Regions from separate parts of the Homo sapiens genome. Here regions 2, 3, 4, 5 and 6 are each linked to region 1. The links are contacts of gene promoters, found by promoter capture Hi-C in blood cells and fetal thymus (Javierre and others, 2016). All regions are on one chromosome and are shown on one strand. The core of a region is centred on a gene start or on the middle of the fragment in contact, and the rest is flanking DNA. Distances in the headings are between cores, read along the strand shown. Region 1 holds the start of IRF2BP2 (interferon regulatory factor 2 binding protein 2). Region 2 overlaps TOMM20 (translocase of outer mitochondrial membrane 20). Region 3 has its middle 44 kb from the start of LINC03108. Region 4 has its middle 14 kb from the start of LINC02971. Region 5 has its middle 55 kb from the start of LINC02971. Region 6 has its middle 16 kb from the start of LINC01348.

The links. Contacts are between HindIII fragments. The CHiCAGO score rates a contact against its expected background, and 5 or more counts as called.
Region 2: a contact is called between a fragment that was not itself captured here and the fragment with the promoter of IRF2BP2 in region 1, in 13 of 17 cell types (erythroblasts, naive B cells, naive CD4 T cells and 10 more). The highest score is 11.2, in erythroblasts.
Region 3: a fragment that was not itself captured here is called in contact with the fragment with the promoter of IRF2BP2 in region 1 in 1 of 17 cell types (non-activated CD4 T cells); the score reaches 5.2 in non-activated CD4 T cells.
Region 4: a fragment that was not itself captured here is called in contact with the fragment with the promoter of IRF2BP2 in region 1 in 9 of 17 cell types (monocytes, activated CD4 T cells, non-activated CD4 T cells and 6 more); the score reaches 10.8 in monocytes.
Region 5: a contact is called between a fragment that was not itself captured here and the fragment with the promoter of IRF2BP2 in region 1, in 5 of 17 cell types (monocytes, endothelial precursors, non-activated CD4 T cells and 2 more). The highest score is 7.6, in monocytes.
Region 6: a fragment that was not itself captured here is called in contact with the fragment with the promoter of IRF2BP2 in region 1 in 15 of 17 cell types (activated CD4 T cells, total CD8 T cells, erythroblasts and 12 more); the score reaches 9.1 in activated CD4 T cells.

The regions. Positions count from the first base shown.
Region 1 is chr1:234,608,928-234,613,531 of GRCh38, forward strand. It overlaps IRF2BP2 (interferon regulatory factor 2 binding protein 2), which reads right to left and starts at 1,251. Exons shown (of 2, transcript NM_182972.3): 1 at 1-1,251. The coding sequence starts at 567. RefSeq lists silencers at 66-345, 586-665, 1,046-1,145, 1,206-1,395, 1,876-2,475 and enhancers at 726-1,423, 1,526-1,625, 3,776-3,835, 4,116-4,165. The HindIII fragment of the contact is 9,061 bases long and covers 1-4,604 here.
Region 2 is chr1:235,106,128-235,110,292 of GRCh38, forward strand. TOMM20 (translocase of outer mitochondrial membrane 20) reads right to left here. Exons shown (of 5, transcript NM_014765.3): 5 at 3,214-4,165. Among named protein-coding and RNA genes, the nearest start is that of SNORA14B, 20 kb to the right of the region's middle. The HindIII fragment of the contact is 653 bases long and covers 1,682-2,334 here.
Region 3 is chr1:235,022,148-235,026,473 of GRCh38, forward strand. No RefSeq gene overlaps it. Among named protein-coding and RNA genes, the nearest start is that of LINC03108, 44 kb to the left of the region's middle. RefSeq lists enhancers at 208-257, 298-357, 438-487, 1,616-1,675. The HindIII fragment of the contact is 8,342 bases long and covers 1-4,326 here.
Region 4 is chr1:234,940,580-234,944,952 of GRCh38, forward strand. No RefSeq gene overlaps it. Among named protein-coding and RNA genes, the nearest start is that of LINC02971, 14 kb to the right of the region's middle. The HindIII fragment of the contact is 2,240 bases long and covers 334-2,573 here.
Region 5 is chr1:234,900,399-234,904,798 of GRCh38, forward strand. It overlaps the pseudogene RN7SL668P. Among named protein-coding and RNA genes, the nearest start is that of LINC02971, 55 kb to the right of the region's middle. The HindIII fragment of the contact is 1,790 bases long and covers 373-2,162 here.
Region 6 is chr1:235,051,093-235,055,914 of GRCh38, forward strand. No RefSeq gene overlaps it. Among named protein-coding and RNA genes, the nearest start is that of LINC01348, 16 kb to the right of the region's middle. RefSeq lists an enhancer at 4,166-4,665. The HindIII fragment of the contact is 2,345 bases long and covers 383-2,727 here.

The DNA of each region.
Region 1 (4,604 bases), core at 1-2,500:
CACCAGGGTGGGCGGCACCGCGTGGCCGCGCCGCGGGTTCGGGCTCTGGCGATTCAGCTCGGGCGGCTCCTCTAGCTTGGAGAAGCCGTTGGGCACCAGGATGCCGTTCACGGGCGGCGGCTGCGGCGTCGGCGGCTGGGCCAGGCTCGCTGCCGGGCGGCTGCTGCCGAAGTCAGAGCCGAGGCGCGGGGGCCTCTCGGCCGCGGCCGCCAACGGGTAGCGCTCCAAGGCCTGCGGCGCGCGCGGGGCCGCCTCGGGGCCGCCGTGGCCAAGCTGCTGCTGCTGCTGCAAAAGGATGTCCTTGGCGGAGAGCGGCGGCGGCTTGGCGGCGGCCGAGGCCGCGGCGCCGGGTGGGGAGCGACCCTCCGGGAAGCAGCCGTGCGCCCGCTTGAGCTGCCGCGCCGTCTCGATGACGAACTCGACGCGGTCGGCGCCCTCGTAGTTGACGCAGCCGCGGCAGACGGGTTCGGTGAAGTCCCAGATCATGGCCCAGGGCATGCGGGGCAGGTCACACAGGTAGCACGACTGCCGCCGGGACGCGGCCGCCACCGCCACCGCCGCGGCCATGTCCGAGGAGCCCGCGACGCCGGAGGAGGAGGCGGAGGAGGAGGAGGGGGCGCCGCCGCCGCCCCCCACCGGCACCACGCGCGCCCTCCTCCCCCCCCAACCCCGCGTCTCCCCCACCAGCGGCGGCGGCGGCCGCAAAGGCGGCGGCGGCGGCGGCAAAGCCCGCGAAGGCTCGGCGCCCGCGCAGCGCCCCCGGTGCACGAGGGGCGGCGGGCGCGAGGTGAGGGGCTGCAGCCGCGGCAGCAGTTCCCCCCGGCCGGCCCGGGCACGGGCGGGCGGCGCGGCGCGGCGGGGCGGCGGGCGCGGCGGTGGGGGCTCGGCCGGAGCCGCGGCGGGCCTCCAGACCGGGGCGAAGACGGGCCGCGCGGGCGCGGGGGAGCGCAGCAGGTCGCGGCGGCGGCCGGCACGGAGTGCGGGGCGGGGGGCGGGGAGGCCGGGGGGGCAGGGGGCGGGGGGCGGCCGCCGGGGCAGGCTCAGCCCGAGCGGCGGGGCATGCCGCGCCGGGGTGGCGGCGGCCGGGCGGCGTGGAGCTCGGGCGCGGCGCGGGCCCCGGGTCGCTCCGCCGCTCTCTCACAGCTCCTGGCGTCGCCGCTCTCCAGCGCCAGCGTCAGCGGCCAGCCCGCCTCAGCTCCGCCGCCGCCACCGTCGCTGCTGCTGCTGCCGCCGCGACCGCTCCACTTCTACAGACTTGATTCTTCGACAGTCTCGCACGGCGCCTGCGCGGGCCCCCTCCCCTCGTGCGCGTGCCCGCCCTCCCGCGCGCGCGCTCCCCCTCCCCCCGCGCGCCGAAGGAGCGCTGCCGGGAGAGCCGGCTACGCGGCGCCCGCCCGCCCGCGGGGCAGCGCAGCAGCGCAGCGCCGGTGTTCCCTTCGGAACACCGCGCAAAGTGATCGAGTGCTTTTCCTCCACTTTCCCTCACTTCGCGCCCCACCCGGCTGTCCCGACCACCCTCAGGATGTTTTCCTCTGGTGTGCCTCTGGGCCAAATCGTGCTAAAAATCATTTTTTTTCTTTTATGCAAGGACACTTTGTCACTTGGTTTCCGTCAGTCTCCTGAGAATGGGGAATTTAGGTCTAGCGTGGTTCACAGTTCTGGTTTTTTAGGAGTTATACTTGAAAGCTCAATGTCGGACACATAGCATGAAATCCGTCACTGGTGCTTTGCATTTGTCTTGGAAAGGACATACGCCCCGCCTGTCCCTTTTACTAACTAGGGAGACTGTGAATATTCCCAAGCCCAGCACCACGTGCACACGCCGCCAGCTGGCTCGCGCGTTTTCCACGGAGCCCTCTGGAGGGGAGGGAGCGCGGTTCGGACTAGCCTCTCCCGAACACCAAGTGCCGCTCTTAGCCCCGTCCAGCCCGCCCTGTTCATCGGGGGCCTCGCCGCGCCAGTCGCCCCGGCTGCCTTATGTAGGTATGCGCGGCGGGCGCGTGACGTGGGCGCGGGGCCGTGGGCGGCCGCCGCCGCGAGTGCGCACGCTCCGCGCAGACGTGCCTCGGCGCCGCTGGCACTAGGGCCTCGTGGAACGAATGCACATTCCAGGGATCCGGGGTCTACGGCCAGCGCGGCCGCGTCACAGCGCAGGCTCCACCCCCTTCGGCGAGTCTGGGCGTCGAGGCGCCGCCCCCGGGCCCGAACTTGGACTCGAGGTGGCGGGAGGCGAGGGCGCGAGTGGGGGGGGGGGGGGTCCTGCTCGCCTCCGCGAGGTTCCCGAGGGCCGTGGGGGCGACCGGCTGGCTGGCTGGCCCGCCGTCCCGCAGGGCGGGCCGCCGACGGAGGCGGACTTTTGCCCTATATGCCACCCAGGCCGGGATGAGCCCGGCCTGCAGGTCTGCCACCGTTGGCAGCCTCAGACTCAGCCCAGACTGAATTGAATGTTTGAGTTTCGCACTTTTATCGGGAGGAGGAGCTAGTGTGTGTTATGGTAAATCACTTTGGGCTGGTCGTTAGTCTCCCTAATACACGTAGGCTTAGTCGCTCTTCAATTGGGACTTTTACACTTAAGCTCTTTAAGGGCGGCCTCTGGAGCTGCTTTTGTTGGGAACACAGGCCCACAACTCTCCCTTGAGACTGGAATGAGCTGGTTAAGTGTGGGAAGAACAGGGTACTAATTATATTATCTTTCCTACAACTGGATTGGTAGGTGGAGAGAAAAAAAAAATCATGCTGACGTTTCTCTCTAGTCGTTGCTATTGAAAATACCAGGTTGCTTCAAAGGATTAACCACAAGGAAGAGGAAAAACACCCTTAGAGAAACAGTGGAGGGAGCTGCTTAAAACACATGAAAAAACCTGTTCGAAAATGGCACAGAAAACGTAATGTCAGACCTAAATGTTTTTACAGGCTAACCTTGAATGTCTTTTGGGGATTTCCATAGAAGGTGCGCCTGTTTTAAAGGTCTCTGCATCTGTTCCTGGATCTTGCCCTGCAATTGCAATCCTGCCTCACCCTCTCCAAGCTGGGAGAATGGGGCCTGTCCAGATCCTTCCCGGGAGTAGCTGGTGCCAGCGGGTTTGGTCACTCCCAGGCCCTGCTGTTGCACACCGCTTTCAAGACCTGTCCCTTTGGTCACCCTCCTCAGAGACCCTGTGACACTCATTCCAGTACATGCCTTCACCCACTGCGTCACTGCCCAAAGGGGATGAAGTCCAGTCCTTGTGCTGCAGAGAAATGAACCAACTCATCGCCCCCAAGAGACGGCCCCACTAAGCATTGACTGAAACATACTAAAAGAAAACACAACTCACCATTAGAGTTGTGGCCTAATTATACTCATTTCTCTGCAAGCTGGTACTGTAATGGCCTCAAGGGGAGAGCCTGCCACTCCATCCTAAAATAGAATTAGAGATAGAAATTCTGCCACGATACTAAGATCTTTGCAAAACGGAGCTTTTCTTCTCCAAAGGAAGAGCATTTCCTTCTTATTTTACACTGCCAGTTTCATGTCGAAACTGAGTTGTTGTAACTTCCCTAATGAAATGCCCGATGGAAAATGGAAGGGCTATTTTAGTTCTGGGCTCGATCCGGAATCAAGGGGGTTAAGGCTGGATTCAGGGCAGCAATTCCTTATATTGTATCAGAAGTCTTTCATGCAGCCTGGCCTTTCATGTAGCTCTGAAGCAGCTTTATCGATGTATGCTAAGTAAACATAGCTTTGTTTTTGTCTTCCACCCACCGCTCCCTCCCGGCACAGACTGGAGTTGGATCCCATCCAAAGCGGCTGCTGCAGCAGTTACAGCCGCCTCCTCCACACACAGGAGCAGGGTTTCTAGGGTGAGGCAATGCGTCTGCAATTCGCAGAGACAAGGCAGGAATTGTAATTGTAGTTCATCATGTGATGACTTATGAAAGAGGAAGTTGGTATGTTTTAGTCACGTAGACTCTGCCCTCTTGCTTGAGGCACCAGGTCCTCTCAAAAGAGAATTATGATCATCTTTGCCACCCAGAGTCAAGGTTACCGGGTTGGCTGCAGTGTGCTCCTGCACATTCATATACGGACAGGCAGGCAGATGCTGGGCCAAGTGTCGGCGACGCAGCGGGATGAGGCTGGCTTTTCACCAGAACACTAAAATGTTGCAATTTGTCTTAAGGACTAAAGGAAATATTCTATGGAGAACACTCCTGCTGAGACTAGACAAACCAACAGTCCTTTCCAGCTCTAATTTCTGAGAGTTGTTTTTTTTTTTAAATAAAAATCACAGTGTAGGAGTAAAAGGAAAGCCATTCAGTATGACACTATCAGAAAAGCAGGAATAAGGAAGTGGCTTGGAAGGCAAACCTAAGAGAGCAGTTGTAAGCGATAGCTCAATGGGTAGAACTAATGTGACCTTCCGACACTGAGATTGAAACGGGCTTCTACTGCGTGAACGTTAAACATCTAAAATCTGAATCTGGTTTCCAGAGCTTACTCCAGTCAAGCAGCTATTAACACACGGAAGCCCTGAACTGACAGTCTATAGAGCAGTGTAAAGAAACGGTTCCTACAAGAGTACCTTATTGGAACTTTGCCCCCAGGTTATGCAGCTGCAAGAGGG
Region 2 (4,165 bases), core at 758-3,257, 500 kb after region 1:
TGCAACCTCCAACTCCCAGGTTCAAACAGTTCTCCTGCCTCAGCTTCCCAAGTAACTGGGATTACAGGCATGTACCACCACGCCCAGCTAATTTTTGTATTATTAGTAGAGACGGGGTTTCACCATGTTGGACAGGCTGGTCTCAAACTCCTGACGTCAGGTGATCCGCCCACTTTAGCCTCCCAAAGTGCTGGGATTAAAGGCATGAGCCACTGTGCCTGGCCTCTTTTTCTGAATATAAGTGAATTTTAAAAATCTGTCACCTGTGAAAGTAGACTAAATTCCAAGTCGTCAAAGTTCTGAATAAGCTGCCTACCTGGACTGCTGATCTGTAGTTCATCTAGCTCAAGGGAAAGCTAAGAAACAAAACAATCCTGTCTTTTAAAAAGGTTTGGGAAAAGCAGGGTATAGACGGGGCCACAGAGCACCCTTAAATGTTGAACTATAATGACACCTAAGTCATCCCTGTATTTGGCAAGTTTCCATGAAAGGGTGGTTCAAAATGACTCTTAATTATGTTTTTGGGTTTTTTCTAAAAGGCCATCTCAGAATTTTTTTTTTTTTTTTTTTTAGTTTGAAAGCAGCCTGTCCAACATGGTGAAACCTCATCTCTACTAAAAACACACAAAAAATTAACCAGGCATGGAGGTGCACACCTGTAATCCCAGCTACTCGGGAGGCTGAAGCAGGAGAATCGCTTGAACCCGGGAGGAGGAGGCTGCAGTGAGCCAAGGTTGTGCCACTGCACTCCAGCCTGGGCGACAGAGCAGACTGTCTCAAAAAAACAAAACAAAAACCTTTATGAATGCTCTTCAATGGCTGCCAGGTTTGCTTTTTTTTGGCATTTTGTTGTTAGGTTAGGAGGCTATCAAGAAATATGCAGAAAGCTAAATAGATCCCTTCCCTTCTCCTGTTCTCAAACTTACACTATTTCTAATAACCAAGTGAGTTAAGTGGGTTTTAAAATAGATTACTCCTCACAATGTTTCTTTCCTTCCACTTACCTGGCATGTGTAATCCCAAAGAATCTTTTAAATTTTGTGGTGAAAAATCCCATTTCTGTTCATTTGGATTTCCATTCATTATTTACTAGGCATTTAACTATGCTCTATGCTGGGGAATCCGATGGTCAGTAAGACATGCCTTGGGAGCTGTCTGGTAGGAAAGATGGACAAGTCACCAGGAAGTGACAGTAGACATTGGTAAATGCCATAGGAATATCCCAGGAATGGAGATACCAGCATCATCAACATGGGGCACAGAACCCTGGACCTGGGCCGGCTACATTAAGACTCTCTCAATGAGATGGTAAAATCAGGGACTATTTTGTTCATCCAGCTATCTGGGGTGGTAAGCACAGTTGCCCAAGGCATAGGGAGCCCCGCAGGAGGACAGCTGAAGAGGAAGGCACATTTGGGGGAAGGATGGCACATGAGGTGAGATCGGAGTTAATCAGGCCAGATTATGAGGGCCTCGGATGCCATACGAGGGACATGATGTTTCAGATCAATTCCTCAGGCAGCTGTGTGGATTGGCGATGGGACCTGCAATAACTCTGGGTTACCTAAAATAGTGGCAGTGAGGCTGGAAAGAAGTGGGACAGGAGGAAGTCATCAGCTACAGGTGGCTGCTGAAAGCAGAGAGGGAGAAATCACCCAGGAAGAATGGAGACACCAGGGGAAGCTTCTAGATAAAACAGCATCTCTTGGCTGAGCTAAAAGAGGAGCAAATTTGTCTTTTCTCTTTATGAGACAGGGTCTCACTCTGTTGCCCAGGCTAGAGTATAGCAGTGCCATCACGCCTCACTGCAGCCTCGAAGTCCTGGGCCCAAGCGATCCTCCCACCTCAGCCTCGTGAGTAGCTATGACTACAGGTGTGCTCTACATCCAGCCAATTTTTTCACATTTTTGTTGAGACGGGGTCTTCTGACCAGGCAGGGTGGCTCACGCCTGTAATCCCAACACTTTAAAAGGCCGAGGAGGGTGGATTACTTGAGGCCAGGAGTTCGAGACCAGCCTGGCCAACATGGCGAAACCCGTCTCTATGAAAAATGCAAAAATTAGCTGGGTGTGGTGGCGCATGCCTGTAACCACAGCTGCTTGGGAGGCTGAGGCATGAGAATTGCTTGAACCTGAGAGGCATTCCAGCCTGGGCAATAGAGACTAACAAAACAGACAAGTTCTGGAACTCCTAGCCTCAGGTGATCCTCCCACCCCTTGGCCTACCCAAAGTGCTGGGATTACAGGTGAGCATGGCACCTGGCTTAAGGAGTTCTGGCAGAGGCCCTACTCCCTGCCCTGCATCCTGTCTCCCATGGCCTCTGGCTCTAGCCCAAGCTTGTCCAACCTGTGGTCCAGGGCAGCTTTGAATGTGGCCCAACACAAACTTATAAGCTTTCTTAAAACACCATGATTTTTTTTTTTTTTTTTTTTTAGCTCATCAGCTATTGTTAGTGTTAGTGTATTTTATGTGTGGCTGAAGACAATTTTCTTCTTCCAGTGTGGCCCAGGGAAACCAAAAGATTGGACACACCTGCTCTAGCCAACGTTCATTCCAGCCCTCCTGTGTCAATCTGCTCTTCAACTCAGCCTTTCAACACACTCAGGTCCTGCTTATCTGGGCAGTTTGTGGCAGGAGCTGTGGAGGCTAGGGCATACCCCCTTCCACCCTCTCCAAAGCATTACTTTTACTATTAATATAATAACTTTGGAGGTGGCAAAGAGAAATTTATGTTAGAGCAAAACTACAAAAACTCTCATAGATCTGATACTGATGACTTGTACACTTCAGATCATTATCAGTGATGTAGAATACAACGTATTCTCAGCTAGCACGTTCTGCTACCAATTAGCTGCTTTTTACAGTGCTAACGTACACATTCTGTCACCTTAACACAGCTGGTTTCTCTAACAAGCCTTCATGTTTCGCACGTCAGCACCACCACCACTGGGCTCCTCTCACGAACCTGTTGTAACGGGCCTCCCAGGTGACTGCTATCTCCTGACGCTGGGCCCACCACCACCTGGAAGCCCTCAGGCGCTGACACTACCACAGGGATTTTCTTCACCTGGAATCTGAAGCAAATGTGCATTCTTCTGGCAGGGAAGCCTGCGGCCCTAGACATCCTCAAAGACGTTAACAACAAAAAACCCACAGCTTTAGACTCAATAAATTCAGCAGAGTTCACTTCTCCAAACATACGCCAAGCCAAAGTTTTCTCCAAGCCCTTTAATATTCACTTAAACAGTTGAGGCACAAGCAATAATAAAACTGCATTTTTTACGTTACAAAAAGATTTTGTATGTTATCTGCATGATATACCAATTTTCTCAATCTCTTCTGCAATAACATCTCATTAACACTCTGGTCCACATGTTGATTTAATAAAGTCAGAATGGCAGGTGGGAGGATGGTAAAATAAACTTACCAAGGGGCAAAAGGAACCAAACATTTACTGAGTGCCGACTATGCAAGCTCTACTAGGTTTTACACACTTTACATAAACGTGAACCTAAGTTCTAGTTATCAGTTAACAGGCCAGCATTGCTACAGCCAGTAAGTCTATGTTTTCAATGTTCTTTCGCTTTTAAGTACAAATTGTGGAACAAAACTATATCTTTGCCCAAAGAAGCACATCAACTGTTGCACTAATACATTATTTTCCATTTCCAAAGTTTTTTAGTAAGTGTGCAACATTAGCACATGGAAACGCTCAAGCTGTGTATTAGTTCACTGAGATCTGGGGTTTTTTTGTTCTCACCTGCTGAGCACCATTTGGCCAGCATCACTACAACAAGCTGATTACATCACCTTGTAAAACTTAAGATGGGGATGAATAGTGTTTGGCAATTACATTTCTGGGAGAAAAAACTGCTGATTTTTTCTTTAACTCGACACAGCTAGCTTTAAAAAGTGGTACCTCATTTTAAAGCACCAAAGTTGTCATTTAAATAAGAAAACGTACTTGGGTTAATGAACTGTAAAATGAAGATACCAACGCCTTTTCAAGCATTACAGCAAAGCCAGTATGTTCAGAGCCAAGTGACACCCAGCTCATACTGCACTCCAGTTCCCAAGGAAACGGCGTTTCTACCCTCCCCAAACTTAAGCTGCCCCTCACTCCTCCAGCCAGCCCTCCTTTTTCTGAGCCCATTCTTTCCTTGCT
Region 3 (4,326 bases), core at 113-2,612, 410 kb after region 1:
GAGGCGGGCGGCAGGCATACTCCATGTCTCCTGCAGAATGAGCACGGGCCCTCTGAATACCTTCTCCTCCTCAGAACAGCACTTTCTTCGTCCCTGTTAGGAGCCTGCTTTATAAGGTGAGAGACTTTCTTTTCATAATGAAGCCCTTTTTAATTCTGAAAAAAAGTAAAAACCTTTGCTTGGAAGGAGTCCCGGACAGACCCAGCTTACACCAAGCTCCTTGGAAGCTGATAGCATTTCCACGCAGCCCCAGGTGCAGTCACTACGACGTGCTTGGGAGGAGAAGGACGATTTTGTGACCAGACAGAAGAGCTCTCTTCAGTACTTTGCCTGTGAAGCAGCAGCTGTTCTGTGTTCCTCTGTCCAGGAAACGAGAGATCAACTCAGAGAAAATTCAGAGAAAAGCAACAAAGATGATTAATGAGCTAGAAAAGCAAGTGACAGCCTTGCGGGGGAATACATTGGCAGAGCTGGATGGATATCACACACCAGATCCGTGCGTGTGAGCAGGAGCTGGCCACAGAGAGAGAGAGGAACTGTTTGGTTAGGGCCCAGGCAGTATCCATACTATAGAAGTAACGGGAATGAAATGGAGAGGAAAGGAAGATGTCAGCTGAAAATCAGAAACAAGTTCCTCACCAAGACACTCCCCTCTCACGACAAGGATGGAAAGCATGTTGCTTTAGCTGTTATCATGGAAGGCCCAGAAAAGGCCTTGGGAGAATCCAGTTTCAGGAAAGTGTGGAAAAATACCAGAGAGCTGTGGAGAGCCCATGGGGATCCTACAGAACAGCCTCTAGACGTCGACAGCCCTGTCATGAATTAGAATCTTTGGACAAGGTGGCAAGCCAACCAGATCCTACAGCAGCCGACAAGCGACCAAGGCTACACAGCCTTGCCTGGGACAGCTTCACGTGGTCACTGTGATTTAGATGATAATAAATAGCCCTCCCCGGCAGCCATGCAGACCTTGGGAATAAGTCTTCTTTTCTTGGTCCATTGAAGTCACTGGAACCCATCAGCAAAGTTTCATCCCCATTTGTAAATCACTGCCTTAGTCATGCAACGTAGCTCTTAAACAACTGAGGGTGTTTGTTTTTCATTCTCGTAGGCTACAAAGCGTAGATGCTAATACTGGCCGGAAAGCAGCCTTTGTTCCTATAGTTCCTGCACACTCCATCTCCCAGCTTTACTTTTCTGCTAAGGTACCGGGCCCATAGAGCTCTTTGATTGCATGTCATTACAGTACAAAATAAACAGGAGAGGTGGCCCTGGGGGCTGCCACCAGGGCAGAAGGCTGCTGTTAAATCTGGAAAACTGACTCCTGGCCATCCCTGGTCCGGATGCAGGTTATTTTTGCAGCAGCCTCTGACCCCAGACACCCTGTGGTCTCCTCTTACACATCCTCCCCATGCACTGCTTCCACCTGTTGGCTTTTGTCACCATCAGCCCCAAAGTGTCTGCACTGCCCAGACCCCACACTCATCTGAGTCCTTTCCCACACTTCCTCCCCGCCGTCTTGCTTGCTTCTGAAAGTCAGCAGGCACCACGAGGAAGGGGATTTCTCTGTCAGCCTACATGAAACTTTCACGGTGGACAGATTTCTTCAATCCAGAAAAGCCTTCGGGGGAGGGGTGGGAGGGCTCCAGTCAGAAATCCTAGAGGGTTGGCCCCGTGGAGAGAGGCTTCCACACGCCCTGCCTGCTGCTGCGGGTAGGATGCTTGGTGAGGTTCATGGTGGCCAAAGCTATAGGACTCCTCACTCAAACCCCTCAGCCTGACCCTACAGAAATGTGCTCTGCCTTGGAGAAGCCAATTAACCTCTCTGGAGGTCATTCCTTCATACCATATCACAGTGACCACAATTCTAATGCAGAGGCAGAAGACTCAACTAATTCTGCATGAAGAGAATGTGCTCATATAATTCAAATTTCCTATATTCAAGGTTTCTCCAGTAGACATGAGTATTCTAATCGGAGCACGGTATTGCACAAATGATCAAGCTCAAGGGCACAGAGTATTAGAGAAATTTGCCCAACCTCACAGACTGTGTCACGCAGCAGGGTCAAGTTTCAAACCCAATCAATCCTGTCTTATGCCAAAGCCCTTGATTTTTCAGTTATGTCCACTGTTCTGCAGTGAGTCCAACAAAATATTTGTTTCCAGTGGTTAGACTGAACTCTCTGAGACCCCGTGGTCATGTGAAGATAGCTGTGTTCATCAGAGCGCTTGGTGACTAGTAGCTTAGGAAAAAAAATAACAAATTGGAAGATTGGGAACAATAGCTCATGCCTGTAATTCCAACATTTTGGGAGGACTAGGCAGGAGGATCGCTTGAGGCCAGGAGTTTGAGACCAGCCTGGACAGCATAGAGAGACCCTGTCTCCACAAAAAATAAAAAAATTAAAAAAAAATTCGCCAGGAGTGGTGGCACGCCTGTAGTCCTAGTAACTAGGGAGGCTGAGGCAGGAGGACCACTTGAGCTCTGGAGTTTGAGGTTATGGGGAGCTATGATTGTGCCAATGCACTCCAGCCTGTGAAACAGAAAAAGACCTTGTCTCTGAAATAAAAATAACAAACTGCCCCAGTGCTGAGAAGGTCTGGGAATAGATTTTAAGCATGGCTGGGCCCACAGCTCAGACAATGTTCTGAAGTGCCTGTCTCTGCTTTTGTTATTTGGTGTTATTCTTAAGCAAGTTTTCCCCTCCCAGGGAAGGAAAACAGCTGGCAGTGACCCCAGACTCACATCCTCACTGAGCAGCCCAGAGAACAGCAGCTCTAGGAAAAGCACTGGGATTGGGTCTCACTGAGCCAGTTTGTGTCATCAGCTGGGATTGGGTTTCATTGAGCCAGTTTGTGTCTTTAGCCTCATTGTTTAGCTGGTCACTGCATTTAGGAGGTTGAAATATGCTGAGCGACCAGGTCTGGACACGAAGGCCACCCTTTGAGTATTAAGGAGGAAAAATCCACTGAAAGACCTAGTGGTGAGGAGGAGTGAGAAGAAAGGAGAAGGGCAGGAGGCCTGTGGGAAGGGGCGTCACTGGGGAGAGCCTCAGGGGACAGATGACAGGACTCACAACAGAGTGATGCTCAGCCTGCTCCACGGCCATCTGCAACCTGCTCTGAGGATGGGGACCCAGTGACAGTGAACCGTGAAGGAGAGACAAATCTGCCTCTCACCCCAATCACAAGAGCTGCCTGCTCTGGCCAGATCCTGAGCATGGGCAGCAGAGCCTGTCTGAGGTCCTCCGCTTCTTGCGGAGCTTCTGTCCTCACTCTGGAGGAACAGTGAGGATGGAGCCTCTACCCTAGCCAGGAAGAAGAAAACAGCTCCAGAAGCTGAGGAGACCACAGGGCCTCTCTCATAAGAACAAGGATGGCCATCTATGACACAACATATGGCCCACAGTGTTCACTAAAAAATTGCTAAAAGCAGGCCAGGTGCAGTGGCTCACTCCAGTAATCCCAGCACTTCGGAGACTGAGGCAGGAGATCCCTTGAGCCCAGGAGTTCAAGACCAGCCTGGGCAACATGGCGAAACCTCATCTCTACAAAAACAAAAAAGAAAGCAAAAACGTAACTGGACATGGTGGTGCACACCTGTGGTCTCAGCTACTTGGGAGGCTGAGGTGGGAGGATCGCTTAAGCCTGGGGGTGTCAAGGCTGCAGTGAGCTATGATGGCGTCACTGCACTTCAGCTTAGACTAGATGACAGAGCAGGACCCTGTCTCAAAAAATATGTATATATTATAAATATATAATATATATTATATATATATGTTATATATATATAATATATATTATATTTATAAATATAAATATATAATATATTATATATATAATATATATTATATATATTATATATTATATATATAATATATATAATAAATATATAATATATATATTTAAAATATAATATATATAATACAAATATATTTAAAATATAATATGTAATATATGTATTGTATATAGTTATATATAATTTATATATTTAAATTTATAATATATATATTTATATGTGATTCTCTCATTTTTAAAAAATTGCTAAAGGCAGATGGGAATTCTGGTCTTGTAGGGCTTGGTGGCCCTTCTCAGAAATAAGCAGTCGGGCGTGCCTTAGAAACATGAAAGCCAAATTCATGGCCAGTCTACGAGACCTGCACTCTGTGAGGCTCCTTGTAGCGTGGAATGTAGTGGGCACAAAACTCTTGGAAGCACTACTCCAATCCTATCATTTTATACATGAGGAAACTGAGGCTTCCAAGGTGAAGCAAGATGGCCAAGATCACACCCGGAATCAGCCTCTGCAGAGACGACAGACACTTA
Region 4 (4,373 bases), core at 204-2,703, 330 kb after region 1:
GACTTTAAATGTCACCTATATGTAGATGACTTTCAAATGTTATCCCTGTGTCTGTTTATCCCTGAAGCCCTAGACTGGTCTAGCCCAACTGCCCAGCTCAGCATCTCCATTTAGATTTCAAATACGCAGCTCCAACTTCGCATGACCAAAAAGCGTCTCAATCCCAACTTAGCTCCCTAAGCCTCCTCATCTCAATAAATCATGCCAGCAGCATAGGCCAGAAACCTAAGAGTCAGATTTAACTCCTCTTTCTCATCTCCCAGTCATCCCCCAACATCCAGTCCAAGAGTAAAATCCACAGGGTCTACCTTCCTAGCACATCCTGAAACTGAAAGCTTTTCATCATCTCCCCAGACACTCCTCCAGTCTGAGCAGCAGCATCTCCGACTCGGACCCCTGCCGCATCCAGTCCTAACAGGCCTCCCTGCCACCATCGGTCTTGGCTCCTAGGGTTCACCTCCAGACCACAGCCAGAGTGAGTTTTCTATAGCACTGATTAGATCACATCACTCTTGTATTTGTTTCTTGTGGCTGTCATAACAAAGTACCACAAACCGGGAGGTGAAACAAGAGAAATGTATTCTCAGCATTCGGGAGGCCAGAAGTTCAAGATCAAGATGGCAGCAGGATCCGTTTCTTCTGGAGGCTCCAAGGGAGAACCCATTTCCTGCCTCTCTCCTAGCTTTTGGTGGTTGCTGGGAATCTTTGCCACTCTTTGGCTTGTATCGCCCCAACCCCTACCTCCATCTCCACATTACCCTCTTCTCTGTGTGACTCATTTTCTGTTTCTTACAAAGACATTCTTATTGGATTCAGAGCCCACCTTGATCCAGGATGGATCTTCATCCTTGCCTTCATTACTTCTGCAAATAACCTATTTGCAAATAAGGTCACATTCAGAGTTTCCCAGTGGGCGTGAATTTTGGAGGTCACTATTCAACCCACTCTAACTCCCCCACTTAAAACTTCCCAGTGATTTCCTGTTGTCACAAGAATAAAATCCAAATCCCCATCAGGTCCTGGGGATCTAGCATCTGCCTAGTCCTTCGACCTCATTTCCTTCCACCCTGCTTTCGTTCACCACACTCCAGCTACACTGGCTTCTTTCTCTCCCTTGAGCATGCCAAGGTATTCCCACCTCCAACCCTTTGCACTTGCTATTCCTTCCTCTTGGAACACCATTTCCCCAGACTTGCACATGGCTGCCTCTTCATCATTCAGATCAAAACAAAAAATGCCAGGTCAAGAGAATTTTTCTGACTGTTCTGTTAGCTAAATCTACATATAAATCTACATAGCTAAAGCAACCCCCACTGTTAGTCACTACCTCATTACACTACTTTATCTCCTTTGTGGCAAATAACAGTATCTTAAATCACTGGGTTTATTTGTTGATGAACTTACTAGCTACACCCATAAGAAAGTAAGTGCCTTGCGTGCAGGGCTTTCTAACTGGCTTAGAGCCCTACTATTCACACAGTAGGTGCTTGTGGAAGAAATTTTGGACTGGCCCATTCAAAATCCATGGCATCTGGAGTGCAACTACCGTCACAACGGAAAGTTGCCTTCCTGAAATGCAGAAGCTGGAATGCTAAAAACCACATTTCCCAGGCACCCCTGCAACCAAAGTCCCAGTTGTAATTTAAATTCCTCAAATAACAGGTAGTCATGCAAGACTTGAATTTCGAACTGGGTTCAGAGGAGACAGAAGCCTTGGATGTGAGGCATCTGTTTGGGGGGCACAGATTGTAGCAGCTGTATGGCAGCTTTGCAGTGGGTGGCCAGCTTCCTGGTGGTAGCAGGAGCAGCAGCTCTTAGTGGGCTCACCCATGAACATTCAGCCTAGAACTAGATACCTGTGATGTCATTTAGGGACCACCGAGATAATCCAGAAGAATCTCCCCATCTTAAAATTCTTATCACATCTGCAAAATCCTTTTTTTTTTTTTTTTTTCGAGACAGAGCCTCACTCTGTTGCCCAGGCTGCTGGAGTGCAATGGCACCATGTCAGCTCACTGCAATCTCTACCTCCTGGGCTCAAGTGATCCTCCTGCATCAGCCTCTCAAGTAGTTAGGATTACAGGCATTCATCACCATGCCCACCTAACTTTTTGCATTTTTAGTAGAGACGGGGTTTTGCTATGTTGGCCAGGTGGGTCTCGAACTCCTGGCCTCAAGTGATCCACCCTCCTCAGCCTCCCAAAGTGCTGGGATTACAGGCATAAGTCACCTCACCCAGCCCCGCAAAATTCCTTTTATCCAAATAAGGTAAATGTTTTAGTTTTTCCAGGCTGCTGAAACAAACTACTATAAACTGAGTGGCTTACAAACAACAGAAATTTGTTTATCACAGTTCTGGAGGCTGGGAAGTCCAAGGTCAGGACACTGGCAGAGGTGATATCTGGGTGAGACAGGAGAATAGGGAATTAGGGTAACCAAGGGTTAAGGCATAAGCAAAAGAACAGCAGGTGCAGCCAGTTCTAGGCAAGATTAGGCAGCATACAGGCCACATTTTTACTCCAGTGATAACAAGACAGAAGTTTCCATCTCAGCCTCTGATTGATAGCAGGCCAAGCTTCCACTTCAGCCTCTGATTGGTCACAGGGCAATCCTTCATAAGATGGAACCAACTGGAGACCTCTAAAGGGCACCTAGGGGTGTTACCAAATTATTTCAGCTTAATAAAAACCCGAATTGGGAGGTTCTTGAGTTGCCGGCTCGAGCCTGTTCCCACTCTGTGAAGTGTACTTTCGCTTCAATAATCTGTACTTGTGTTACTTCATTCTTTTGTTGCTTCATTTGTCTTTCATTGCTTCATTCTTTTGCTGCTTTGTTTGTGCATTTTGTTCAACTCTTTGTTCAACACCCCAAGAACCTAGACAACTCACAGTCAAGACCTTCCATCCATTAACATGGGGAGGGCTCGCTTCCTGGTTCATACATAGTGATGGACTTTCTTGCTGTGTCCTCACATGGTGGGAGGGACTAGCTCTGCACTCTCTTTTACAAGGGCACCTCCCAAAGGCCCCACCTCCTATTACCGTCACCTTGGGCATTAGGATTTCAGCAGATGAATTTGGGATAGGACACCAATATTCAGCTGTAATATTTATAGGTTCCAGGAATTAGGACCTGATATTTTGGGGGAGGCAATAATTCAGCTTACTACACTGGCCTTGACCAGAAAACTATGTTCTAAGATCTTTTCCAGCTATTCAAAGGGAATGCCACTGGCGTGCGTGCCCGTCTCCTACCCCACCTCCATTTATTTCTCCCTTGAAGGACTTACCTAATGAGGGAAAGTGAGGAGAAAGGGAAAGAGCAAACATGCAATGGCTGCAGACACTCAGCCAAGGGAACTAGGAAGTGCGTGAGCCAAGCTCTGAACAGGTGTAGACACTCAGCCGAGAGACGAAAACGAATAACCAAATTGCTGGAGCATCAGCCAAGTGTATTCAGCTGCATCTGATAGGCCAAGAGAGGGACAAGTGCTTGGCATGTTCACCTTAGCAGACAGGTGCATTGGGCCTGGTATGCCCTTGGAAAAAGATCCCTTCCCAGGTGAGGGCTGGCTTTCCAGGAAAACTCCAGCCAGCCTCGCCCATTTTTAAGGACAAGGAGGAGGAAGGAGGCAAGAGAGAGAATGAGAATAGGGAAGTAGGAACAGATGGCTTCCTGGACCCGAGAGGCTATTCACCAAAGATCAAAAGAAGTGAAGAGATGAAGGAATTATCTGGATAAATTAAGCAAAAATAAAAAGAGGCAATGGGACTTGGGGACCTTTCCAGCCAGGGCCGGTTGTCTACACTGTTAAGCTCACTAGACAATTGTTCAGACTTTTCTGCACGTGAGAGGGCAACAAAAAACTGACCCCAGGGTAGGTCTAAAAGCCCCCGATTCCTTCTCCCATCTTAGCACCCCTTTGACATTAAGTCAAGCCATTCAACCTGAGTAGAAATAAAATAAGAATATCAAAGTAGTGCCTGCATATAATTAGGCAATACTGACCAAAATAAAGTAGGTTTGATCTCTTTAATGGGTGAATAAAATGCTGACATCAGCACCATGTTGTTTGGCAAAATGTGCAATATTAATTCATTCATTTGATAACTAATAAGTACCTGGGGATATATTGATTAATCAGACATGAATCTTGCTCTCAAGCAGCTTACAGTCTAATAAAAGACATAGAGCATGCTCATAAATAATGCATTTAATCTTATCAATAAACCTGTGAGCTAGTCACCCTGACTCCCACTTTATGGATGAGAAAAACTCAAGTTTGCAGTAAACACCTTGTACAGAGTCATACAGTTAGTGGCAGAGCCTGGATTTGAGCCACATGTCTCACTGCTAAAGCCCATACTTTTTTC
Region 5 (4,400 bases), core at 18-2,517, 290 kb after region 1:
CACACATTCACTTTTTGAAAATTTTTGTTTGTATGCTCATTCTATATGGGAATGCCGATCACATTCTGGGTCTCATTTTCAGACCCTCAGGGACAAGAAACTCAAACCTCTTCTCCATATCTTTTGTCCTATGTCTTTGGGGAAGGGGAAAAATACTACTGGGGCGGCCACAGTCAGCCAGGAGAGAATCAGGGGACCAGGTGAAGTGAGCAGGTAGAGGGGAACTGATGCAGCACAGGGCCTGGGGGAAGATACAGCAAATAAGTGAGATCAGGAACACGGTGAGAGCAAAGACAGGGTCAGACACAGGTCAGACCCAATCAGGACAGGGCCCACAGAGTGCAATCCAGCCTGAGACAGTGCCTGGACAGAAGCTTCCCAGAGAGATGACTGCAGCTGTTTCAGGCCTGCACGTGCTACAACCTTATGCCAACTACAAAAGGATACTCTTAGTCTGGGCCAACTGACCACACAGCCTTTACTCCAACTCTGCACCACTTCAGGAACCAACTGGAACAGAAGTGACCCATGGAGCCGCCCATGCCTCTTAAAAGCACCCTTCTGTCTAAGAAGGATGCCTCATCCAGAACCCCTGGAGCAAGGATAAGTCGCTACCAGGAGGTAAAAAGAGACAGCCTCGAGTGGTTATTCTTCAGCAGGGTCTTGCTCTATATGAGTAGTCAGCACTCTCAGGAGACACAGGCAAAAGGGACTCCTCCCCTGAGATGGTTTAGACAGCGCCACAGTCACAAATGCAAACAAACAAACAAAAAAATGTAATTTCTTTTTTTTTTTTCTTTTTTCTTTTTTTGAGAAGGAGTTTCCCTCTTTCGCCCAGGCCAGACTGCAGTGGTGCTATCTCGGCTCACTGCAAGCTCCGCCTCCCGGGTTCACACCATTCTCCTGCCTCAGCCTCCTGAGTAGCTGGGATCACAGGCGCCCACCACTGCGCCCGGCTAAAAAAAAACGTCATTTCATTAATGCTCACGGAGGTCCCTCAGTCGCTTGGGATCCAGCACTCATAATCCCAAACATCCACTCTTGTAGCCAGGAAACCCTTCTCCGTGGCTTCCCCATATTTTTTGCCCTATGTCTTTGTGGGGAGGGCTAAGGAAAGCCGCTCCCTCCAGGTGCCATGGAGGTCTGTGGACTGCACTGTGGCTGCTGATGTCGGAGAGGACAGTGTTTTGGAGTGGGAGATGATTTGAGTTGCTGACTAATATGGGTGAGAGAAAAGACAAATTCATATGACCTTTTCCCTCGGATACCATGAATGAACAGATTCTTGCATAACGAATAATCGTTTCCCAGTGGAGCGGTTCACCCATTTCCCCACCTCTCTTCCTGCTCTGATTCCTGTTCCTGGAGATACTGAAGAAGTAACATGGTATTTGCAACAATGGTACAAGGTAGCAGAGGAATATCGTGCAACGTTTAACAATTCCTGTTATTCTTAAGCCAGTATCTACGTCGATCTACATGCACCCATGCATGATGTAAAACAGAGCTTCTTTAGGTTGGCAACTGGATGGAAATTGAATGCTAGAAATGTGAAGTATGACTTACAAAAGTATTTAATAAGATTTTGTTTCATTTACAGAAAATCAAATTTAAAAGTCAGTTTTATTTCAAGAATTTTTATTTACCATTTTGACACTTATTAATTATAATTTGTAATTTTGCGTTTGACTTTTCATGTTAATGTTACAAGAAAAAATAACTTCTTTGAAAATAGATATGAGAAAATGCCTCTTTGATGTTTTCACATGTATTTTCTCATTTTTGATGAAAATATATTCAAATTTTGCATACTTTAAATACATTTACATTTTTAAAATCCTTTAGCTCATTGCTATCAATAGAACAAAATTATGTAAAAATGTTCATTGTAATGACAGAATCTGTGATCACGATGAAATTAAGGCAAAAAAATTAAGGAAGTAAATATATGATCGTTATAAATTATGAGTCTTTATTTTGTTAGTCATTCAAACAAAACAAAAGAATATTTAAACCTGTATGGCAATAATTGATTCAGTCGTTTTTTATATCTGCTAACTTTGGATCATGTAAAAACTATAGCTTTACCTAATTTTTCAATTTTGTCTTTATGCATATTTTTGAAGTATGAGAACAAACTGTATTTTTTCTAACTCTTTGTAAGCTTGATTGATATTTCTGTATATTTGGGCAAACGAGGGACTTTCTCTGCACTCCTGCCCTGGGCTCTGCATATGTTAGAGGTAGACCCTTCAGTATGAAGAGGATGAGGCCACACACACACAAACATGGAGGGCAGGCAGTATCCGTTTTCCTTTAAGTAACCACCTTTAGATGACTTCAGAACACCTTCAGCTTTTGTTTACAGAAATTTCGTTTGGCCTTTGTAGGAACTTTTCTCACAAGTCTTGCGTACCCAGCACGTAGCTCGGTGCCTGACACAGGAGCCATTCAATCAGCATTTGTTGACCTTCTGCACCTGACAAGCCACCCCGGGTGCTGTAGCTTCCACTCTTCTATTCATTACACATGAGAAGAGAATATGAAACCTCAACAGATTGTGACTGAAGTCTAGATGGTTTCATCAACAGCTGTACATCCCCCAAAAGGAGATACTGAATTGGATTTCACTCATAGGTCACAATTCGACACAACTGTAAACTGTCACCATCACCCTCAAACACAGGGGTGCCATCACTCCAGAAACAGGGGCCTGAAAAATCTTATTATTATATCCCTTAGGTGGCATGCATCACAGGGCACCAAAGTCCCCCCTTCCTTTGTTTCTGGAAGAAAAAGGACCGCCATGGGAACCGAGCTGCTGTATCTGTGAGTGCTTCACAGCAAGAGAAAGTGAAGAGGTGTGTGGGGTAGCAGAAGGCAGTATGACAACCCAGGCTGGGGAACAACAGCTGAGCTTCACATCACAAGGGGATGCATTTTCAGCCAGCCACACACACACCCCCCAGGATGCCAGGTTGCAAAACACTCAAATTCATCTGGAAGCAATAGCACCACCAAAGATCATTTTCACCAAGTAATGAAACAGGTCAGACCACCTTTTTCTTATCTACACATAACAGATTCATTTCTCCCAAACAGTAGGTATAGTATTGTCTTTGCCCCTGGGGTTAGTTCTTCTCAACCTTTTACACAAAATGGCACAGGTATAAAATAATATTTCTGTGGCACGCAGGGGTAAATGGGAGGCTGCTGTTCAAAGCAGGTGATTGGCCCAGGACTTCTGGCTGCTGCTGGCCCCAAGGAGGTGGGAGTCACAGAATTTTGGCACAGCTGAAATGCATTTGGCACAGGCCTCAGTCCATCCATTGGGAAGCCTTGCTACAAGACGATGCCTTTCCTAATACAGTTCCAGAAAGTAGATGGAAGGGGTCCTTTATAATCGTAGATGCACCACTCACCAAGGGAAGGGGCTGAAGAAAGACCTGCCATACATTGTGTGAAGTGGCTCTGCCTTCAATTTCATGGCCAAAGCACAGTCCTGCCCACTTGAAGAAATAGGATCTACCTTAGGAAGATGAGAGAGGTCCTTGGAGGCTTTACTCCTGATTTCCTCTTCTCGTACCCACTTTCCCACCAGGGAAGAGCTCCCTGCCCTACTTCGGGATCTTGACTTCCCTGGTGGGCTCCTCAGATTCTCCCCTCACTCAAACAGAGAGGGCCACCCAGCAGTGATGTTCCCTGCTCCTTTGGCAGAGCTTCCAGCCGCCTAAGATGCTGCCTCAACAGCATTTACATGTTTAGGCTTTCATCTCTAAGGAATTTTTCCGGGCATGGGGGTGCATGCCTGTAATCCCAGCTATTCTGGAGGCTGAAGCAGGAAGATCGCTTGAGCCCGGGAGTTCTGGGCTGCGGTGCGCTGTGCTGATCAGGTGTCCACACTAGGTTCAGCATCACTAAGGTGACCTCCTGGGAGCCAGGGACCACCAGCTTGTCTAAGGTGGGTGAACAGACCCCGCCCGGGTCGGAAACGGAACAGGTCAAAACTCCCATGTCCATCAATAAGGGGATCGTGCCTGTGAATAGCCACTGTACTCCAGGCTGGGCAACATAGCGAGGCCCCATGTCTAAAAAACAGAATAAAATATTTTTCTAGGAATCACAGTATCAGTAAGTAGGAAGCTCCTTGCTGCTGCTGGAAATGGGATTGCGTATGACATTGGTAGGATTAATAAGGTGGGTGCTCCTGAAATCACTCAAAGCCTTCTAGCATGACCCCAAAGGTGACCGATTTGCAAATGTTGATTAAATTGTTCCTCCAAGCAAATCTGGTGAGGATAAAATTAAAAGAATGCCTGAAAAGCATTTTTTAAATTTTGATTAAAAGTCCGTGGCACACAGCGAATCGGACACCCAGAGCAGAACATTTAACAACCTCT
Region 6 (4,822 bases), core at 305-2,804, 440 kb after region 1:
ATAGGTGATGTCATTTCCCAGTACACTGAGAAACGCGAGGGTGGGAGCTTTGGCCTGTCCAAATCCCAGCACCCATCACATAAAATGCAAAATGAAACACACCAACCACAGATAAAGTCCAGATGGTATTCTTATTGCTGGCATTGCAATATCAGTAAGTATCAGCAAGTAACGATCATTCCCCACACCTCCCTTTCTTGGGTCTAAGGAAAACTTGTAAGGTTGTGTGGATCCACGTCGAGGACTGTCTGCTTGGAGGTGGGAGACTCTTCTGGGGAAAGGCAGATGGTGAAGAAAAACAAGAGCTGTTTTGCTGTTGTTGCTTTTAATCAATCTTTTATTCACAGCTACAAACTTTAATCAATTATGGATAAAACACAAAAGCTTTTTGAAATGCTGATAAAGGAACCCATACCGAGAGACCAAATAAAATCCGAGTGCTGAGCTGGCCATGGGCTTGGCAGGTCAGCAGCACATGGAGGCACAGAGATGGTGGCACCAACAGAAAGGAATGTGGGAAAATTTTGTCCCCCAGATAATATGAATAGAACAGTAAAATGAGGTTCAGGGTTGAAATGGCAAAGCCAACGTTGCTGTCATTCTCTTGGGTCCCTTCCATGTGCTGGGCTACGATTATAAATGGGGCATGCTGGCTGCATGCCAGGGGCTCCTGGCCTCCAGGAGACAGACACTGTCACACCAGGCTGAGCAAGTGCCATAAAGTCAGGGATTGCTTGGGGCCAGGAGTTAAAGACCAGCCTGGGCAACACAGCAAGATGCCATTTCTACAAAAAAAAAAAATAATAAATAATAATTATATATATATATATATATATATATATTTTTTAGCCAGGCGTTGCAGTGCACGCCTGTAGTCCTAGCTACTTGGGCAGCTGAGGTGGGAGGATGGCTTGAGTCCAAGAGTTCGAGGCTGCAGTGAGCAATGATCAAGCCAATGCACTCCAGCCTGGGTGACAGAGCAAGACAAGACCCCGTCAATCAATCAATCAGTAATAAAACAGGCCACTGGCCAGATTTGGCCTACAAGGCAGTAGTTTGCCTGCCCCTGGTTCAGATTAGAAAATATAGAGTTGAAATCCACTAGCATAGTCCCTCCAAGTCCTGCTTTTCTTCCCCCTTCCTATTCCACATGCCTGGATATTTTGTCATATCCAGTGATTCCAAGACATTGCTAAATGATCTGAAGATTACAGTGAGCTTGCCTTCATCTAAGCTCAAGAGACTGCAGTGCATAAAGATAATTTGTTCAACAGAGTGAGAACTGCTTTGCCAGGAGCGCTGAGTGTTTTAGTAATCAATCAATCAATCAGTCAGAGAAGAACTCATTAGGCGCATGGTGCTGTTCCACACTGGAGATGTGCAGAGCGTTGAGGCTGGATCCTCACAAGTGTTGAGGCTGGATCCTGGCACGTGGGTTGGTGAGAAATTCCTACTTCCCTATTGCCCGGGTACTCATTGCAGTTTCACACAGTTTTAGTTGTGTATAATCCTTGAGAGTCACATTTTCCATTTCTTAACCTATACAATGAAGAAATTCAACTAAATGGCAATGTGATTTTGTGTGTGCACCAGGGGACTTCTCAGCGAGGGCTTCTTGGAGATGTCTTGAAGGCGGCCATGTGCCATGTACGAGGACTGGCCTCAGGGCAGGCTGAGCCATGGGGGAGGGCTCTTAACTTGAGCCCCAGAGATGGAGGCTGTAGTGAGCCATCATCTCGCCACTGCACTCTAGCTGGACAACGGAGCAAAACGCCATCTCAAGAAAACAAAAGTATTCATTGTTTATATGAAATTCAATTCAAATTTAGCTGAGCATCTTGCCTGTTTATTTGCTAAATCTGGTAGCTCTCTAGGGAGAGAAGCAAGTTCACATTTGAGTGTCTGGACCTCCCAGCAACATACTAGTTGGTTCCTACAACCTGTGCGTGGGCATCAGTGCATGGAAATGGCGACAGGGAGAGATAATAAAACAGAAATAGAGGAGGGTAAGTAATTGAAGCCTCAGTATTTTTGCTGTCATTGCAAGAAGAAGGAAATGCTCTGACATATGGTGTAGATGAAGAGTTGAAAACTCAATGTCAGCCAGGCGCAGTGGCTCACGCCTGTAATCCCAACACTCTGGGAGACTGAGGTGGGTGGATCACCTGAGGTCAGGAGTTTGAGACCAGCCTGGCCAACATGGTGAAACCCCGTATCTACTAAAAATACAAAAATTATCCGGGCGTGGTGGCAGGCGCCTATAATCCCATCTGCTCAGGAGACTGAGGCAGGAGAATCGCTTGAACCCAGGAGGCGGAGGTTGCAGTGAGCCGAGATTGTGCCACTGCAGTCCAACCTGGGTGACAGAGTGAGACTGTCTCAAAAAAGAAAGAACAATGCCACAAGGACCTGGACAAGGAGTAAAAGTAAGTCAAGTGGAATGGATATAGCCACAGGGAACAGTGGGGACATGGGACACTGCGGGGGGTGCATGCCCCGCCTAAGAGGTCTGCTGGTACCTCGCTCCAGCTCACTCTGCCATGTGATCTTCAGGGCTCAGTGTGGAAGAGCTGATTCTCCTCAGGTTGACAGTCCTGGTAACCTCAACTGTGGATAGTGAGGCTGATTTCAGAAAGAGTTTTGGAGAGCCCGCAGAGTTCATGAGTAAAGCTGAATATAGTCCCAGCCTCAGCAAATGAAGGCTCCTTCAGCACTAAACCAACTACAAGCTTCACCTGGAAGCAGCACTGCCAGATAAACACAAGACACCCAGTTAAATGTGAACTTCAGATAAACAATGAATACCCTTTCTGTATAAATACATCCCAAATATTGCATGGAACATATACCCAAAAAATATATATTTGTTGGCCAGGCATGGTGGCTCACACCCATAATCCCAGCACTTTGGGAGGCCAACGTGGGAGGATTGCTGAAGCCAGGGGTTTGAGACCAGCCTGGGCAACATAGTGAGACCCCATCTCTACAGAAATAAAATAATTAGCTGGGCATGGTGGTGCACACCTGGTAGTTCTAGCTACTTGGGAGGCTGAGGTGGGAGGATAACTTGAGCCCAAGAGATGGAGTCTGCAGTGCACTCTGATCCTGCCATTGAACTCTAGCCTAGACAACAGAGTGAGACTCTGTCTCAAAAAAAAAAAAAGTATTCATTGTTTACATGAAATTCTATTCCAATTTAACTAAACGTCTTGCCCTTTTATTTGCTAAATCTGGTAGCTCTCTAGAGAGAGAAGCAAATTCACATTTGAGTGTCTGGACCTCCCAGTAACATGCTAGGTGATTCCTATGTACTCTCCTTGATGCCAAAAGATGGATGTTCTAGAACCGTCTTGGCCCCTCACCAGTTGTATGTTCCCTGTCCCTCTGAGCCTCGGTTTCCTCATCTCTTAGGTGGACATGGGAATTCCTATCTCACAGGATTGTCACAAGGATGAAATGGAGTAAATGTAACGGCATATCGTACGGTGTCTGAGACAAAGCAGACACGCAACACATGTTTGCTGCTGAGTGAAATTCCTCACCCTCAGAATGACGCTTTGTTCTCTCACTGAACCTGTCAGGACCCGTCCAGGCTGAGACCAGGGGAGCGTGTCACTCCCACAGTGGCAGGCAACATCATGTGGTCTTCAGGGCCTTCAGGGGGAGCGAGCGAGGAACACAGGAGCTGTGCTCCTGGTGAACCATCCAGATAACAGTTCAGAGGAGAATGAGGGCCCTGGCTTTCTGTTCTTTGGGGTTGGAAGCCACGAGTACAGAAGACTCCTTTTCCATTTGGGCTTTGCCACCATTCTTCAGCAGCATGGCAACTGCTGCCAGCAGCACAAGGATGGTTTCTAATGCACCCAGAGAGTTCTTTGAGGGGCTCGAAGAGACCGAGGACCAGCTTCAGCCACCTTCCCCCCTCCGGCCTGAAGCCTCTCGAAAGCCAGGCCTGAACACGGAACAGCTGGGAAGCCTTCGAGCATTCCAAAGAAGAAATGGAACTTGGGGCATGAAGAGCTTCATTTTATCTGCTTCCTTCCCTGGATGCCTGAAGGGTGACACAGGAGGTGCCTGCCAGCGCCGCATGCTGGTCCGCCTGCAGACGGCCCTGTCCACGCACACACAGACACGTCCCAAATATTGCAGGAAGATCTCTTGAGGGAGCTCATTTAACTCGGCTTCCCTTGGAAATAAAAGTGACTGAATTCTTTCACTAGGGCTGCCATAACAAAGTGCCACAGCCTGGGTGGCTTCAACAACAGAAACGCCTTGTCGCCCAGTTCTGGAGGCAGGAATTTGAGATCGAGGTGCCAGCAGGTTGGTTCCTTCCGAGGCTGTGAAGGATGGATCTGTTCCAGGCCCCTCCTCGGCGTGCAGGTCTACACGTTCACATGAAGTTCTCCCTTCACAGCCGCCTGTGGCCAAATGTCCCCTTCCTATAAGGACACCCATCACGTTGGATTAGGACCTACCCTCACGACCTCATTGTAACTTAGTTACCTCTTTAAAGACCCCATCTCCAGGCCAGGTGCGGTGGCTCACGTCTGTAATCTCAGCACTTTGGGAGGTCGAGGAGGGTGCATCACTTGAGGTCAGGAGTTTGAGACCAGCCTGGCCAACATGGCAAAACCCCATCTCTACTAAAAATACAAAAATTAGCCAGGCATGGTGGCATGCGCCTGTAACCCCAGCTACTCAGGAGGCTGAGGCAGGAGAATCACTTGAACCCAGGAGACAGAGGTTGCCGTGAGCTGAGATCACACCACTGCACTCCAGCCTGGGAGACAGAGTGAGACTCCGTCTCAAAAATATACATATA